2 separate regions of the Homo sapiens genome follow, and region 2 is linked to region 1. Evidence: promoter capture Hi-C in 16 types of primary human blood cells and fetal thymus (Javierre and others, 2016). All regions are on one chromosome and are shown on one strand. Each heading gives the region's core, a stretch centred on a gene start or on the middle of the fragment in contact. The rest is flanking DNA. Distances are from core to core; before and after follow the strand shown.

The links. Contacts are between HindIII fragments. The CHiCAGO score rates a contact against its expected background, and 5 or more counts as called.
Region 2: a contact is called between a fragment that was not itself captured here and the fragment with the promoter of GRIK1-AS2 in region 1, in 4 of 17 cell types (megakaryocytes, M1 macrophages, M0 macrophages and 1 more). The highest score is 8.0, in megakaryocytes.

Annotation. Positions count from the first base shown.
Region 1 is chr21:29,591,930-29,599,779 of GRCh38, reverse strand. It overlaps GRIK1-AS2 (GRIK1 antisense RNA 2), which reads right to left and starts at 3,740. Exons shown (of 3, transcript NR_033368.1): 1 at 3,002-3,740; 2 at 2,086-2,210. GRIK1 (glutamate ionotropic receptor kainate type subunit 1) reads left to right here. Exons shown (of 18, transcript NM_001330994.2): 8 at 843-950; 9 at 3,210-3,254. The HindIII fragment of the contact is 3,262 bases long and covers 1,259-4,520 here.
Region 2 is chr21:29,848,595-29,856,444 of GRCh38, reverse strand. The region is part of intron 1 of GRIK1 (glutamate ionotropic receptor kainate type subunit 1); the gene reads left to right. Among named protein-coding and RNA genes, the nearest start is that of GRIK1, 87 kb to the left of the region's middle. The HindIII fragment of the contact is 225 bases long and covers 3,248-3,472 here.

The DNA of each region.
Region 1 (7,850 bases), core at 2,491-4,990:
GCTCTGTTGCCCAGGCTCCTGGAGCGCAGTGGAAGGATCTCGGCTCACCACAACCTCCACCTTGCAGAGGGAGCTTTTATGCAGACAGCAGGGGAGGAGGAAATGTGACCACTGAGGCAGAGATTGGAGTGATGCAACCACAAGAGAAGGAGAAATGCCAGAAGCCACCAGAAGCAGAAGGAGGCAAAGAATAGGGTCTTCCCTCGAGCCTCCAGAGAGAGCACGGTCCCGCTGACACATTAATTCCACCCAGTTAACACTGATTTTGGATTTCAGGCCTCCATAACCTTGAGAAAATAAATTTCTGTTGTTTTGAGCACCCACGTTTGTGATTACTTGCTACAGCAGCCACGGGAAATTATAATGCCCAAATGGTGCAAACACGCTAAGTCATAAACAGCCTAAAAACTGCAATACATCATTGGACTATATTAGTCTATATTCTTTTCACAGAGAAAGAAAAAGCAGGGACTCACTTCCACTCAGCCATATCTCAAAGGGAATTTGGATTGACCTTGGAAAACAGAATATTGTGATTTCTCAGATTTTGTGTATTCCGTGTGCAGACTGTTTTACGGCAATTCTTTCCATACTGTCCATTTAGGTAGCCACGATGACAGGTTTGACTGGGTTAGGATGTTAGAATTGACAGAATAAATGAGTGCTAATAAAAAGACGATGTGTTCTGCTATCTTGTCGCTGAACCAATGCAATGGTTTATAACAGCATGATGAAAACAAATAATTGGATACTGTGATGAATTTGAGGTATTATAATTTTGATGGTCTCAGGAATTATGATAAATGTTTAACAATAACAGCCACATTTCTTCTTGTCCACAGGCCCGGTGGGATGGCTTGACTGGGCATATCACCTTTAATAAAACCAATGGCTTGAGGAAGGATTTTGATCTGGACATTATTAGTCTCAAAGAGGAAGGAACTGAAAAGGTAACCTCCTTAACAATAAATAAATAAAATAACAAATGAACATTGTTCAGGCATTTTTACTAAATTGCAAAGACAAGTAGGTGAATGATGAAGTGATTCTCTAAGCATGTTCTTTTACATCCAGTTTTTTATCTCTCTTTCTTTTTTCTGCAGATAGAAGTTGATGTGCTAGATTCTTAAATTTCATGTCTTAGTAATAGCAGTACTAACTAGTGTTTCTATTGTGCTTCATTTACATAGCAAGTGTGATTATATTATTACATATATAACCCTAGAGTTGGGTGTCATTAGGCCCATGTCTTAAAGCTTTTAACAAATTGAGTTTAGACTTGGAAAAGCAGAAGCTATCAATGGTTTATCGATGGAATGGCATCCAAGGGTTACCCAGAAATTAATTTTAATTGCACATTTTATTCCATTTTGAGATTGGTGACAGACAGAATAAAGTAGGATAGAAGAGACTTACTGGAGCAAATTAACTTTGCATTCTTAATTTTAGGACAAATGCCAAAAAACTGTATTTTAATGTTGGGTTCTCATTTTAGGATTATTTTAGTTGTAATTCTGAATCTCTCCATGTTTAAAGTTCTACTTTAGTTATTATTTAGAGTAATTCCAATGTAAACTATTTGGTTAAATAATAATGATAAAAGAATTTGGCTCCTCAATATATTTTACTATGCCAATTTTAATATTCATGACTATACGTCAGAATTAACACTTACAGTTTGAAGATTTTGCACTGACAATCTTATAGAAAAACAATTGAAACCCCCAAAGCAATCACCTCAACAGAAAACTCTATAATCTGACATTTTTTTTCCCACTATAGTGAATAAGACAGTGTGCTTAATGTAAGAGTGGCTTTGGGAACAATCGATTGCTTGATTAATTAGATTAGTTGGGTTGATTTTTTAAAATGAGGTAAGGTTTTCATTTCCGTTTTCTTGCTTTTGTTAACCAGGACACATTTTTTTTGCAGGTGCTAACTACCCCTCCCCCTCAAAAAAACATTAATGGAAACAAAGATCATTTAGGCTGAATGTATTAGAAGGTGACCACCAGTGTGAAATATTTGAGGAAAATAATTTGTTTGCAGTTTTGAGAGTACACATTATACATGCAGGTTACTCACTTCAAAAATGTCTCTCCCATCTTCTGGCTTCCTCTTCACTCTGATTTGCCCCTCTGTTGGTCTGACATGCCCTGATAGAGCACAGGGCATCCAGCCAGTCTCCACGATGGTGCATGGGATGTTGGCTGGAGGGAACAAAAGAAAAAAAATACTTGTTATGATCTAAAAGCCTATAATTTTTTTAAGAAAATGTCTGCTTCTCGAAGCATGAGTCTTTCCCCAACTCTGTTCTCCTCTTATGTATAGCACTGAAGGGGGAAGAAAAGCTGTTAAGGAAACATCTTTTTGGCTAGGTGAATGATGAAATAGATGGAGCTATTGTTATGCTTTCACAGCTATCTATACACCGTAATATTATGCACATTGCATTGGTGTTTTTCCATCAAAGGCAAAATCAAATTAGATGAAAGTGTTTTGTGTTGGTTTCTTATCTCTTCATTGTTTGCAATAACTTTTCTTTCTTCAGGTGTCTTGGGCTCAATTCCTGAGAAGGCTGATTGGGCCTTAAGGCAATGAGGGAAGCCAACACATCTCTCTCAGGAGCCGAGGGAGGAAATGCCCAATCTTTTTATGTCAGCCTCTCTTGGAGTCAATAGGGAAAATTATTAGAAAAATCCCATTCTCACTTTCACTCAAATTTCTACTGCCCAGAAACCCATAATCAAAGAACAAGTCATCAAGCATACTTCTTCTTTATATGTGTGTGTCTGTGTGTGTGTGTGTTTGTGTGTGTGTGTGTGTATTGATTGATTTGCTGGTTGGTTGGTTAATTGATTGATTTTAGTTACCAATGCCTTAAAAGGGTCTTCTTAAGGAACAATGAAGACCCTTAATACTGCAGCATACCTGTATACATTGAAAAGCACTTTAAGGCATTTCTTGGTGTGTGAAAGGAAAAGTAAAAATTGAGTCTTACCACCAGGTAACTTCTGTGAGACCCAAGTCTTGATTCGTCTCTTTGCTGTACCTATTGTCAGGCTTTATATTGAATTAAGATGCAAATTCCAAACAATGGGTGGGAACTGTAACACTCTAAGCACTCACACACCATGATTCCTTCTGGGTTTCACGCTCCATTTTAATTAAGTGCTGTTTTTATTTTATTTTTCTCTCTGAAAACCAAGGCTGCTGGCGAAGTGTCTAAACACTTGTATAAAGTGTGGAAGAAGGTTTGTACTCTGACAACAACTGCAGGAAACCTGGGGGTGGGATGGGGAATGTCATTGGAAAGGCCTGTGCCCTTCCAATGTTACCAGACCTGTAGCTCTCCAATTGCAGTTTAGAAGGGAAGTTCCATGTAAAGAGAGAGGAGTGATTGAATATGTTATCTCTCTCAACAACATCACCTGTGAATTGAAAACAGGTTTGCAGTGGATTAAATAATTATGGATTAAATATTTCCCCCAAGATTATTTTTGTTTCTCCCAGGCAGGATCAGTCCTTGTTAGGATTGAAAGCAGGCAACTGTAACAGAAGGAGACACTGACCTATTTATATTCCTTCTCAAATCACTAAATATTTTCCTTAAGGGGGATAAAAATCACAATAGATTTGATCCATGAGACTAGTCAGATAGGCTACAGCCTCAGAAGGCTAGGACACCTCCTGTAATGTCACCACCACAAAATATGAACCATTTTCAGAAATTTCCTTTTCTCATGAGCTATCTTTTGTTTTGTGTGATATCTTCATCAGAGTATACTGTCTTGCAATTTGTTTTAGAGCCACAGTTCTAAAGAGGACACAAACGTTAGGGACCTTGGAAAGGAAATGAGATTATCTTGTGAATTATAACACCCACTATTTTATAGTTTATTATACAGTGCCATGTTGCCAATGAATGTGCATAGATTTATGTAAGCAAATATGAGACATTAAAAACATTTGGATCAGAGAAATGTCCCCGTGGTAAGCAAACATTTTCTTTCATCTCTTCTCTCTCTTTCTCTTCCTCCTCTCCTTCCTTCCCTCTCTGTCTCTCTCTCTCTAAAACTACTTGGTAAAAAAAATCTATGGACTGATGAATGGACCTTAAATTGCTTCAGGTTGTTCAACTTGAACAGTTTTGTCAGGTTCACTTTCATCTTTCAAATTATCAGCTATGTCACAGAAAGTGTACACAAGTTTCTCCCTGTAGCCAAAAACCTTGTCCCCCTCTTAGTAGTACTCAGTGATGAATTCAAAAATTTTTTCTTTTTAAGTTTTCAAAGCATAGGTTTAAAAGCCTTGTTTTAATCTTCAGTGAACAAGGCTACTAAGTGCATGTAGAAGGCGATCTGGTTTCCTCACTAAAATTTTACTGGTAAATAGATGAACCTAACCGGCACCCAGAAAAAGAAAAAAAAAAAAAAAAACCTATTACACTAATCCATCTTGAGACTCTGGGCACTTTGAATTAATCTAATACAAATGTCCCAGGGAATGGAATCCAAGCTTTGAAATTATATAAAGGGGAGGGGGGATGTCCTCTATTTGTCACTAAACTGCAAGAGCCACACACACTCCCGAGGGTTGTAACTTTCTGATCTTGATCCTCCATGCCTTCATGCCTCTTCCCTCCTGGTAGCCCATCATGTTCCACATTGTAAGTTGTATATACTGTGGTGTGCTGTTTTGTGTTATAACTCCGTCAAAAATTCACGGTAACCTGAGTTCTAGCACAGGCGACCCACTCAGACCCAACAAACACATTGCACTTTTTCCAGAAGTCTCCAACTTAAACAAAAATTCACCTTCATCATATTGAAATCCCAAAAGCTTTCCTCGTACTCTGACTTATTTTAGAATAGTATTATTCACCCAAAATTCTTTCCAAAAGAGGAAGGTAGCAATCTTTACAACATCCCTCACTAAAATATTTGTTATATAAGGTTCGTAATACAGGAAACACATATACCTTTATCTTTGCCCTAGATACCTGATTATTTCCCTCAGCCACTTTAGATGTTGAGTTTACATGAATCACTGTCTAGGTTTAGAAGATAGATACTAGTGGCTCTCTGAATACCCTTTTTATTGCATCGCTTTTTAAAAAAAGTTTGCTTAATGTCATTTGGGCACTCATTTTCAAATGCTTTTCTCAGTTGTCCTAGATAACACATGGCTGCTCCCTTGTGCCAGCTTACAAAGTGAAAGAAATCAGGGCCAGGTAATTTAGATATTGAGTGCTCCTCCCCACAAGTAACTGATCCACCCTCCACTACTTCTCACTGGTAAATGACTACTGTCTGCTTTCACTGTGAAGCTTGAAAACTGAGGTTCCGCTCCCTGGAGGCACTCCTCCTAGTTCGTAGAACAGTACTGAAATGTCAAATGTCCAGGCATCTTCTTAACTGTACCTCTGTCTCCAGCACACATGAATCATGAGATCTGACTTCTTTAAAGGGAGACATTCATTTCCTGAGAACATATTCATTTACTTCAAGTAACAGATAAAGCCACATGACTACTTGGGTTTAAAAGACACAGGTACACACATGCGTGCACATACACACACACACACACACACATACACAGTTCTGTTTTGCTGATTACAGGTTTGGAAACAGAAGACTGAGGTCACTCAGCATATATATACTGTACATTTCCCAGGAATAGCCTGACCTTTACTATATTTTGATACTCTTCTAGTCTACATTTAAAGGACCTTCTGTAGGTCCCTCTGTAGAGACAATAGGGGAAAAAATGGTCACCCTTTTCTCATTTTAAGAAGGAAAGTTTAAACTGAATAGGACTTGGGACTTAGTTGATTGGATTGGCAGCAGCAATGATCTCTTAGCTTCTGCACTTTTAGTGCAGATAGCAAAGGAAAGAAAAACCAGACATCAAGCTGTGGGGTGTATTTGTCTACAAGTTCAAGTTTTATTTTACAAGAGAGTGATATTGCTAGGCTATTGAACACTGTCAGTTTCAAATATTACGGTAGTTCCTCCAACACTCACATACTTGACATTAATAGAAATAAGATTTAAAGAGACCACATCCTATCACTTAATCAAGTGGCTAAAAACAGTTATTTTCTCCACCCTTCAATACTTACTTAATTAAAAATTAGATTCCCTTCTCCTCAGTGTCTAAGTGAAGGTTTAATTAGAAGTACAGTCAGGGCCCAATTTACACACACTCTTCATGGAGCTAGGAGTCAATTGTTCACAACCTAAAGCACAGCCTTGGATGAAAATCAATAGACAGGTATATTTAGCCAGAGTTACATTTCCTAGAAGCAAGGGTCCCTGCCTCAGAAGAAGGGATGGAGATTGAGAAGAAAAAGAAGAAAATGCTGTCCACTTTTCCTGAGTCTAAAGCCAGATTAAGAAACCTAAAGATTCTTCAACCATTAGACGTATAATGTGCATTCTAGGTGATATTTATCACACTAGATCCTGGAAACGTTGGATGGTTATTAAGAGTACAGCTTACAACCCAATAGACACTTCTTTTCAGGCAGGACCACAATATTTTCAAATGCAAAAACTATCCCATTCCCCCATTTACCTATACCTGTCTCTTTATTTCTCCAGTCAACTAACCCTCATTAAGTATAGGAAATAAAACTGAAATTAAAATAGTTCACACTGATGTGTGAACGTGTAATAGTCCTTGAAACTTTTTCAAAGCATTGATGTCTCTAAAAGGGATATTTGTCAAGCTAAATGAATTTCCAGCTGCTAAATATAGGCAATAAATCAGAGTCAAGAAATAGAAAAGCAAAGGAGGATGGAGCCTAACACTCCTGTCTGTCTTCCCATTAGAGGAACATATTTAGGGACCAAGCATAGCTCCACCCTGTCCATCTCAGAGCGGGTCCAAGTGTTCATGTTCCTAAACTGCCACTTGTCATAGCTCTTTTACCTTATCAGAATCTGAATTTTTAAAAAAATGAGTCCAGATTCCTTCATGACAGGGTAAGGTTGAAGAAATGACTGAGGCAGCCATTTCAATGTCCTTTCTTGTTACTATGTGTGCAGGTCTTAACAACATGCACCAACACTTCCACATACATCATCTGATTATTTGATCTTCTCATTATTCCTGTGAAATACTTTATAGGTAAAGAATCAACTGAAGCTCAGAAAGTTTAGAATCTCATTCAAGGACACACAGCAACAAGGTCTTCCTGGCTCTAAAACATACTTGCAAGCCACCATGTGAGGCTGGCAGTAAATGCCTACAGAAAGATAGGCATTTACAAAATAGCTCAAAATCCCCAAGGCTCCTCTTCTGGGTTCCCACAGAGGCTGAATGAATCAATACACTTCTACACCACCTCACAACCCAGGAGTGACTTGGCCACTGGAGAAAATTGTGGATCATTATTTTTAAAAAGAGTAATGGGCTTTACTGAATGCCAGTTGCCATGGTTGGTTTTGTGACAGTAAAATCAGTGACCAGTAAAAGTGAGCATCCTCACTGAAGGAGTTCACGATCAAGTGGACAGACAAGACAGGTAAACAGATAAATAATAACAGAAGACGCTAGCTGCTGTGACAGAGATATGAACAGAGTCCTGCTAGGGCTCACAAGCACTCTTTGCCCAGCTTTGGCTCCTCAAAGAAGATAGGCCCTGAATTTAGTCTACTTCTCATGCACATGACATGTTTTCTTTCATTTATCTTTCTCTTTTTAAAGAAAAAATTACTTTATTTTTTCAGTGTCTCGCTCTGTCACCCAGGCTGAAGTGCAGTGGTGCAATCACGGCTCACTGCAATCTTGACTTCCTGAACCCAAGCCATCCTCCCATCTCAACCTCCTGAGTAGCTGAGACT
Region 2 (7,850 bases), core at 2,111-4,610, 260 kb before region 1:
GCATTGCAGTCATTTGAGAGACTTTGTAATTATCATGTGATCATGTCACATGCCATTTCTCTGTATTTCTCTTGACTCCTCAAAGTTTTCAACATAATTGGCTACTTCATTCTTTTGGCTGCTCTGGTGCTGTATGCTGATAATTTTCCACCTAAATCACTACCAGAACTTCTCATTCTCCTCTGCTGGTTCATCTTCCTCCACACAGTCTCTGGGGCCAGACCAGGGGCCTGGGGTCCTCTGCTTATCTCCCGCTATAGAGTCTCTCTGAATGACTCTCCCAGCCCCATGATACTAAACACCCACCACTGGGCTGACTTTCAATCCACAACTAGCTCCAACACTACTTGTACCCCAGAAATCTAGACATATATTCAAGGACCAGCTTGGAATCTCTACACTGATGTTTACGTATGAATCTGAAACAATATTTCCAAGATTAAGCTCTTGCTTTTCTCTCCAAATGTGTTTCCCCCCAATTCCAGTCTTCCATCCTTTACCAAACATTCCTCAAACCACCCAGTTGTTCAAGCCAAAACTTTAGGAGATAGCTGCTCTTGATTCTTCTTGAAAAAAAAATCTCTCCCATTTCATCTGTCAGAAAATCCTACCGATCGTGTCTCCAAAAACATCACCAATCAGTTAATTTTTTCACCTTCACCATCACCATCCTCTCATCTGGGTTGTTTATTTGGTTTCATAACCTTCTTACTTGTCTTGGGTTTCAAGTCTTTCCTATGCCTCTTTCCCCAGCTGATCTATTCTCAACCCCTATCCCTAATCTTCTAAGAACACAAACTAGAACATCCCACTAATCTGCTTAAAACCCTCCTTTGGCTGCTCATTACATACAAATAAAATTCAAATACCTTATCATGAGCTACAAGGCCCACCTGGCTTCTGCCTACTTCACTGGCAATATACTGTACTTGGTCTAAGATGCTGGGCTTATTTCTTATGTCAAGTTATATGCTGCCTTTGGTCTAGTTATTTCCTCTGCTGGAAATCTCTTCCTCATGCTCCTTCTTGACATTCAGATCTCAGCTTAAATATCACTCTTTAAAGATGGTATTTTTGGCTGGCCATCTGAAGTTGCAGACAGACTGTGTAGTACTTCCTGTATTTTAATTGTCTCTATAGACTTTATATGTAACCAATATTATTCTTTTTTATTTTACTACTTTAATTTGTGTCTCTTTCACTCCGTAATAAAATATCTCAATGGGCTAGGAATTAGCTTTTTCACCACTGCTTCCCTAGCCCTAAGGACAATGAGTGATATCTCACAGGGTTCCAATACATACTAGTTTGATAGTTTGAGACTACAAGATGACTGTCTATGATGTCAGATCTAGAGCCCAAGTTCAGGTCTTGAAAAGGCCCAAAGTGCCCTCAACAGCTCATGCCCTGGTTTGCAAAAGTGACTTAGTTCTCCAGCTAATGATTTACTTTTTGAATTCAAAAGTCAATTCTAAAAGTCCATTTTTAAGAGGCCTTTTTCTATGATGCAAATATCCCTGGATGAAGCATTACTAAACCATTCGCAACTTCACATGCATTACATCAGTTCAGCCAGCTAGTTTCTTAGAAAAATCTCAAATGATGACCCCTTGACTGTTTAACTTTGATCAAGGAAGAGTGAAAGAAATGATCAGAAGCCTGGGCCTTGCTGGGGAAGACAAACGAATGACATCACTCCCCGGATCCTTGAACCATCATGATCCTAGTTCCTGAGTGCAACTAAAGCAAATAGATGAGAAAACATCATTTCCACTATTTTATATATGATATTTCCTGACAGTCATTTATTCACTGTTTATAATGACCAAAGGGGCTTATATGATCTTCATGTGTGCCTCCATTCTCTGGGAATTTTGTCTACCTCATTCCCCCACCCAAGTCCATTCCAGGCATAGTAATTTCTTGTTTTTTTTTCTCATTATTTTTGGCAGGCTATTTCTTCAAGGCCTCTCTTCCCTCTACCTGGAAAGCTCATCTGCCAAGTGTTTGAAAGCTCACTCCCTGATATCATTTGGATATTTGTCCCCTCCAAATCTCATGTTGAAGTCTGATCCCAAATGTTGGAGGTGGGGCTTGGTGGGGGGGTGTTTGGGTCATGGGAACAAATATCTCATGAATAGCTTGGTGCTATCACCAAAGCAAAGAGTACATTCTTGCTCTATTAGTTTATGTGAGAGCTGGTTATTTAAAACAGCGCAGCCCCACTCGCTTCTCTCTCTCTCTTTCCTCCTCTCTTGCCATGTGATGCAGCTCCCCTTCCCCTTCTACCACAAGTGGAAGCTCCCTGAGACCCTCACCAGAAGGCATCATGCTTCTTGTACAGCCTGCAGAACCGTGAGCTAAATAAACTTATATAAATTACTCAGCATTAGGTATTCCTGTATAGCAACACAGATGGACTAGGCCGCTCACTACTGACTTCCTTCAGGCCTTTGCTCAGATGTCATGGGGGCAGTGAGGACAACCCTGGCCATCCTATTTAAAATTGTGACCCACCCATGCTGCTTACACAGCATCACCTATTCTTTTTACTGTTCTTCTAATTTTTGCCTTAAACTTATCTCCCTCTGACATGCTATATGTTTCCTTTATATGTTTGTTTATTGTCTTGCTTCTTCCACTAGTATGTAAACTTCAGGAAAGCAGGGGTTTTGGTCTGTGTTTCTTTCATCTATTTTCCCAATGCAGAATGGATATTTAATACACGTTGATTTGGTGAATGCTCCTGAAGAGTTTGCTATCAATATGCTAATAAATGGAGGAAATCAGACATTCCCATGAGTCATATGCAGTTGACTAGAGGAAAGCATAGTTGGCCTATTTTTCTCCAAAAAGCTAGATTGGGGAGATTAATTTATAAAAACACAGTAAGTAGAATTAGTAAATACTTTTACTACTGAAATGATTCTCCACTGGAGGCAATTTTGCCCCCAAGAGATATCTGAGTACTAAGAGATACTTGGCTTCCTAATAAACAGACTTTCAGAATTGACTTTTGAATTCAAAAGGTAGCTGGAGGACTAAGTCACTTAGTTCTTAGTCACATCAGAAGTCATTCTTGGCCAAGGGTGCTGCCACATATCCTACGATGTACGGAACAGTCAACAACAACAAAAAATCAGAACCAAAATGTCAATAGTGCTGAGGTTGAGAACCCCTGTACTGCTATGTAAATGTTAAGACTTTTCTTTCAAGTATTGAGCCTTTACTTACTTGAGAGGAAGCTTCATTATGGCACAAATGTCATAGTTACTTTCTTGGAATTGTGAGAGTGTTAAAGATAACATAAAATATTTTGCCAGTAGAGAATGAAGAAAAGTGGTTTACTTAAATTGTTCAGTGAGGCTACAATTCCTTTTATATAAAAGAATATTTTCACTACTTTTAGAATGACACAAAATAGTACTTTAAGAGTGAGAAGATATGTTGATTTTATGCAAATCTTAAAGCTTTGGGATATAAGATCAGAATGAATTACATTACCAAAAGGTTTTTATCTAGACACTCTACATAGTTTATTGATAAATTTGGTATATTTATCAGGGAAGCTTTATAACTTAAAGAAGCACTAAAATAAAAATATATCCCTACTGCAATTTCAAATCTAACTTTGAAATGTAGTAATTTGACACAAGTGCCAAGATGGAAAAAATTATTCCTCAAACTGACATAAGAAAATATTCTCCTATATCATAATGAAATAACATAACACTTTACTTTGTGTAAAGCATTCACCACTTGAAAAACATTTTGATAAATGTAAAGTTTCCTAAATGACTTGCATATTTATGTGGCTGTTCCTTCATTTGCTTCAGCTTTCAGGCCACATTTATTTACTGCCTACAATGTGCCCACTAGGAAGAAAATATCAGTAGTGCACTCGAGTATCTTCCAGTCTAGTAAGAGAGACAAGATGTACAGAGAATGGAGGTAGGAAGTGGAACTGATAAGGGGCCATTGAAGTTTAGCTGGAAGTTGCAGGATGAAGGAAGTCTGCAGAGTACATAGATTTTAGTCTGAATTTTGGGAAATGTATAGAATTTCTACAGGTAGGGGGCCTTCTTGGTAGGAGGAACAGTGGGTAGAGGTGCCCAAGTTACTCAGATGTGAATAGTAACAGTCACTATTTGCATTTAAGCGCAAGGAAAGTGAAAAGTGCTCTGTGGGAGAGAACTAACTATTTAAGTAGGGTCAGATTCCTAAATAATTTGAATGTCAAGCATCAAGGTAGAAGGAAGAAAGAAGTGACAAAGCAGCATTAAGGAAAATCCTTCAAGAACAAAAGAGATGTGAGCTGAGGCTGACATCAGAGACAACTGTGAACTTAGTGCTGACAATGGGAATGGAGGGGTGGGAAGAAATGTGAGAAACTGTGGAAGGAGAAATAGTCAGACTTGAAAATTTTTCCATAGAGGTAAGAAATCAGGGAGAAGGATCAAAGATGGCACTGATATGTCACATCTAAGTAAGTGAACGGAATGGTAGTGTCTTTAAGAGAAACCAGTATACCAGGAGTCAGTGCAGATTTGGGGAAACAGATAATATGTTTGATTCTAAACAACATGTATTGAAGACAGGACATTTCGTCCAAGGGGTGACATCAAGATTTATGTTGCAATTAGAGATCACCAGTTCAGAAGAGAAGTCAGTGCTAAAGACGCTCTTCTTGGAAATGTTTAAGTAGCTAAGAGAGTTGAGGCCATGAGGTAGACTAGTAGCCCTGGCTCTGGAATAGGTGCTGTACATGAATCTCCTCATAGCTCATGAAGTTAGTTATTAGATTCTGTTTTGCAGAAGAGGAACTGTGATCACACAGCTGGTAGGAGTCAGAACCAGGACTCAAGCTAAAGTCATTCAGACTCTGGCATTTCCACTGCATTATAGGGCTAGAAAAGGGAGCAAAGGTAAAGAACAGACTGAAAGTGAGATCCTAGAAGATGCCATGTTATGGGAAGAGGATGTTGTTCACATTTATTGATTTATATCTCCCTTTTGTCTATTATTGCCTTTGTAAACAATCTGTGTTGCTCAAAGATTGCTACTCTCTTGTCTCAAAAAAATCATTTCTAGGCCGGGGGATGTGGCTCATGCCTGTAATTCCAGCACTTTGGGAGGCCGAGGTGGGCGGATCACTTGAGGTCAGGAGTTCGAGACCAGCCTGGCCAACGTGGTGAAACCCTGACTCTACCAAAAATACAAAAGTTAGCTTGGTGTGGTGGCTCACGCTTGTAGTTCCAGCTACTCAAGAGGCTGAGGCAGGAGAATTGATTGGACCTGGGAGGCGGAGGTTGCAGTGAGCCAAGATCTTACCATTGTACTCCAGTCTGGGCAACAGAGAGAGACTCCATCTCAAGAAAAAAAAAAAAAGAAATCATTTCTAGTTGATTCATTTTCACAGACTGATCTGTAAAGCAAATAAGCTAAGAGTTTGTACAGACTGACAGTAATAAAAGGTAGGAATAATATTATTGGCATCTTGAATTCATTTGTGTTAATATCGTAAGTAAAAGTTTGCTCTAAAAGTCTGTTCTTCTAAAATATTAAATTTCCTGCTGAGATACTCTCTGGCTTTTATACAAACATTGTTACTTGTTAGTTACCTTGTAGTAGTTATACTATTTCCCCTGTTATACTGAAGATTCTTACTTCAAAATGAGCTGAAGATGTGACTTATGAGTTTACATAAAATGAAAAAAGTAGTTTTGGTTCTTAATAAAGAGAATTTATGTGCCTGGTACATTGCTAAGACTAAGGAACTGGCAGAGTCCAGATGGAGGCCAAGAATACAAGATGTTATGAGCACTAAACAAGGACTCCAAAATTACTTCCATCAATAACCTGTGGCATCTGCGACCACCTTATCCATTCCTGGGATTCGTTTTTTGTTCATTGTTGTGGTGGTGGTTGTCCTTGTTGCTTTGAATAGGAGTGGCCAGGGGAGAGGATATCTGAGATTGGGTACAGGGTGTGTATGCAGTTAGAACATTAGGGCGATAGCAGTATTATCTTTAATCTTGAACACCTTAGAAATGGATAACACCCAGAGCCACACATCGAAAAGATAGAGATTTTTTAAATACCCTTCAAACTGCTTAATTTGTAGTCCTAACAAAAAAAAATTTACATCTGCTGAATTATGTTCATATCTGTGAGATTTAAGAAATGCTACCCAGGATCTACATAAATGTTCCATTTATGGCAAAGAGAAGATGATTTTGTTTATGAAAAAGAGATAACAAATATTTGAGATAGTTTTTAAGGATCTTCTGTCAGCAAATGTTAATGCAGTAAGGAAGATATCATGATCCTTCTGAAAGTCAGCGAAACCGAACCAAAAAGGGATGACATAAACTTCACGGGCATATGCTATTTTAAGATTTGCACAGATTTCTGCACTCTAAAAAACGTGAGTTTCATGGGGGCTGTTTGTTCTCTCACTCCACACACATATGAGAGGGTGAGAGAGAGTATCTCCAGTAACAGGGGCCATCCACTGTTGGGTTCAGTCATTCTCTCTTAGAGGCACCAGAGGGCACCAGAGGGCATGAAGATCAGAGCAGCAAGCCGCTCTACACTCTGCATCTTTATGCTAGCTTCCACCATAATTAACACCTGCAGAATCCTGGGGTAGTTTTCTCACCATGCACTTGAAATGTGCCAGCTTTTAAGAACCCTTACCGGCACTCATCTCGAATTTAAGGCACACTCTCTCATTAGAGGTAAGCTGAGAAATTGGAGTCAAGGAGTTAAGCAGAGAGAAGGGGATAAGCACATGGACACATTGTCTTTGGTGGTTAAGAGGAACATTGCTAAAAACAAACGGCCTTTTATTGGCCTTTCCTCCTTCCTGACATCACTCTACACTTATCCTTAATGAAGTAGTACATAAGAACTGTGTCTGACGCTCTAAGGAAGGATGGGCGCAGGAAACAAAGTATAACAAAGGAGGCAACACTACAATGACTTAGAGGATTTAGTTTTTAAGAGCTTTTCCCCTATTGATGGATGCTCGACTGATTTTATCTCATCATCAACCTTGGAAGCTATTAGCAGAGGAAATTGCACTTACCATCTGTGATGTCCTGGCAATAACTTAATATTGTTCTGAAGGTTTAATTCAAATCGATTTAATTCAGCAAACATTTATTAATCTCATGAATGTTTGGCACCATACTAGAAGCTAAGGGATACCAAGATGAACAATGCAAAATGTTTTATTTTTACTTCAAAGGTTTTAAAACCTAATAAAATACAAGAAAAATATTAGGAAGTACAATACAGTCTGGGACATGAAAAGAAAAAGTATAAACAATATGCTTAATCATTCATTTATTCATTTAATAAATATTTTGGCAACTATTATATGCCAGGAACTATACTATGTGTGTTTGTAGACCTTGGTTAACAAAACAGATTTGGGTTCTGTTCTGCCTTCACAGAGTCAGTTTGGGAAATGACAGAGTGTTATGATAAAGAAACATTTGGCATGGGAGAAAGTTCCGAAAATCTATTTGAATAGGGTGGAATAAATGAACTTCCATAAGAGACGACATTTAAGAAGAATCAAGTCATCCTAAGGACTAGGAAAAACACATTTTACGTATACCAAACAGCTAAGGTGAAGATCGTGGAAAAAAAAAAAAATATATATATATATATATATATATACACACACAACTTGGTCTATTTAAGGAACCCAAAGAAGGCAAGCTGTAGTATATGTAATAAACGGTATGCAAATGCCAGGCTATATAGAGCCTTGTAGATGATATTAAGAACTGAAGAAAGAGAGAATACATCTAGCCACAGGGATCCACAAATCTTTACAA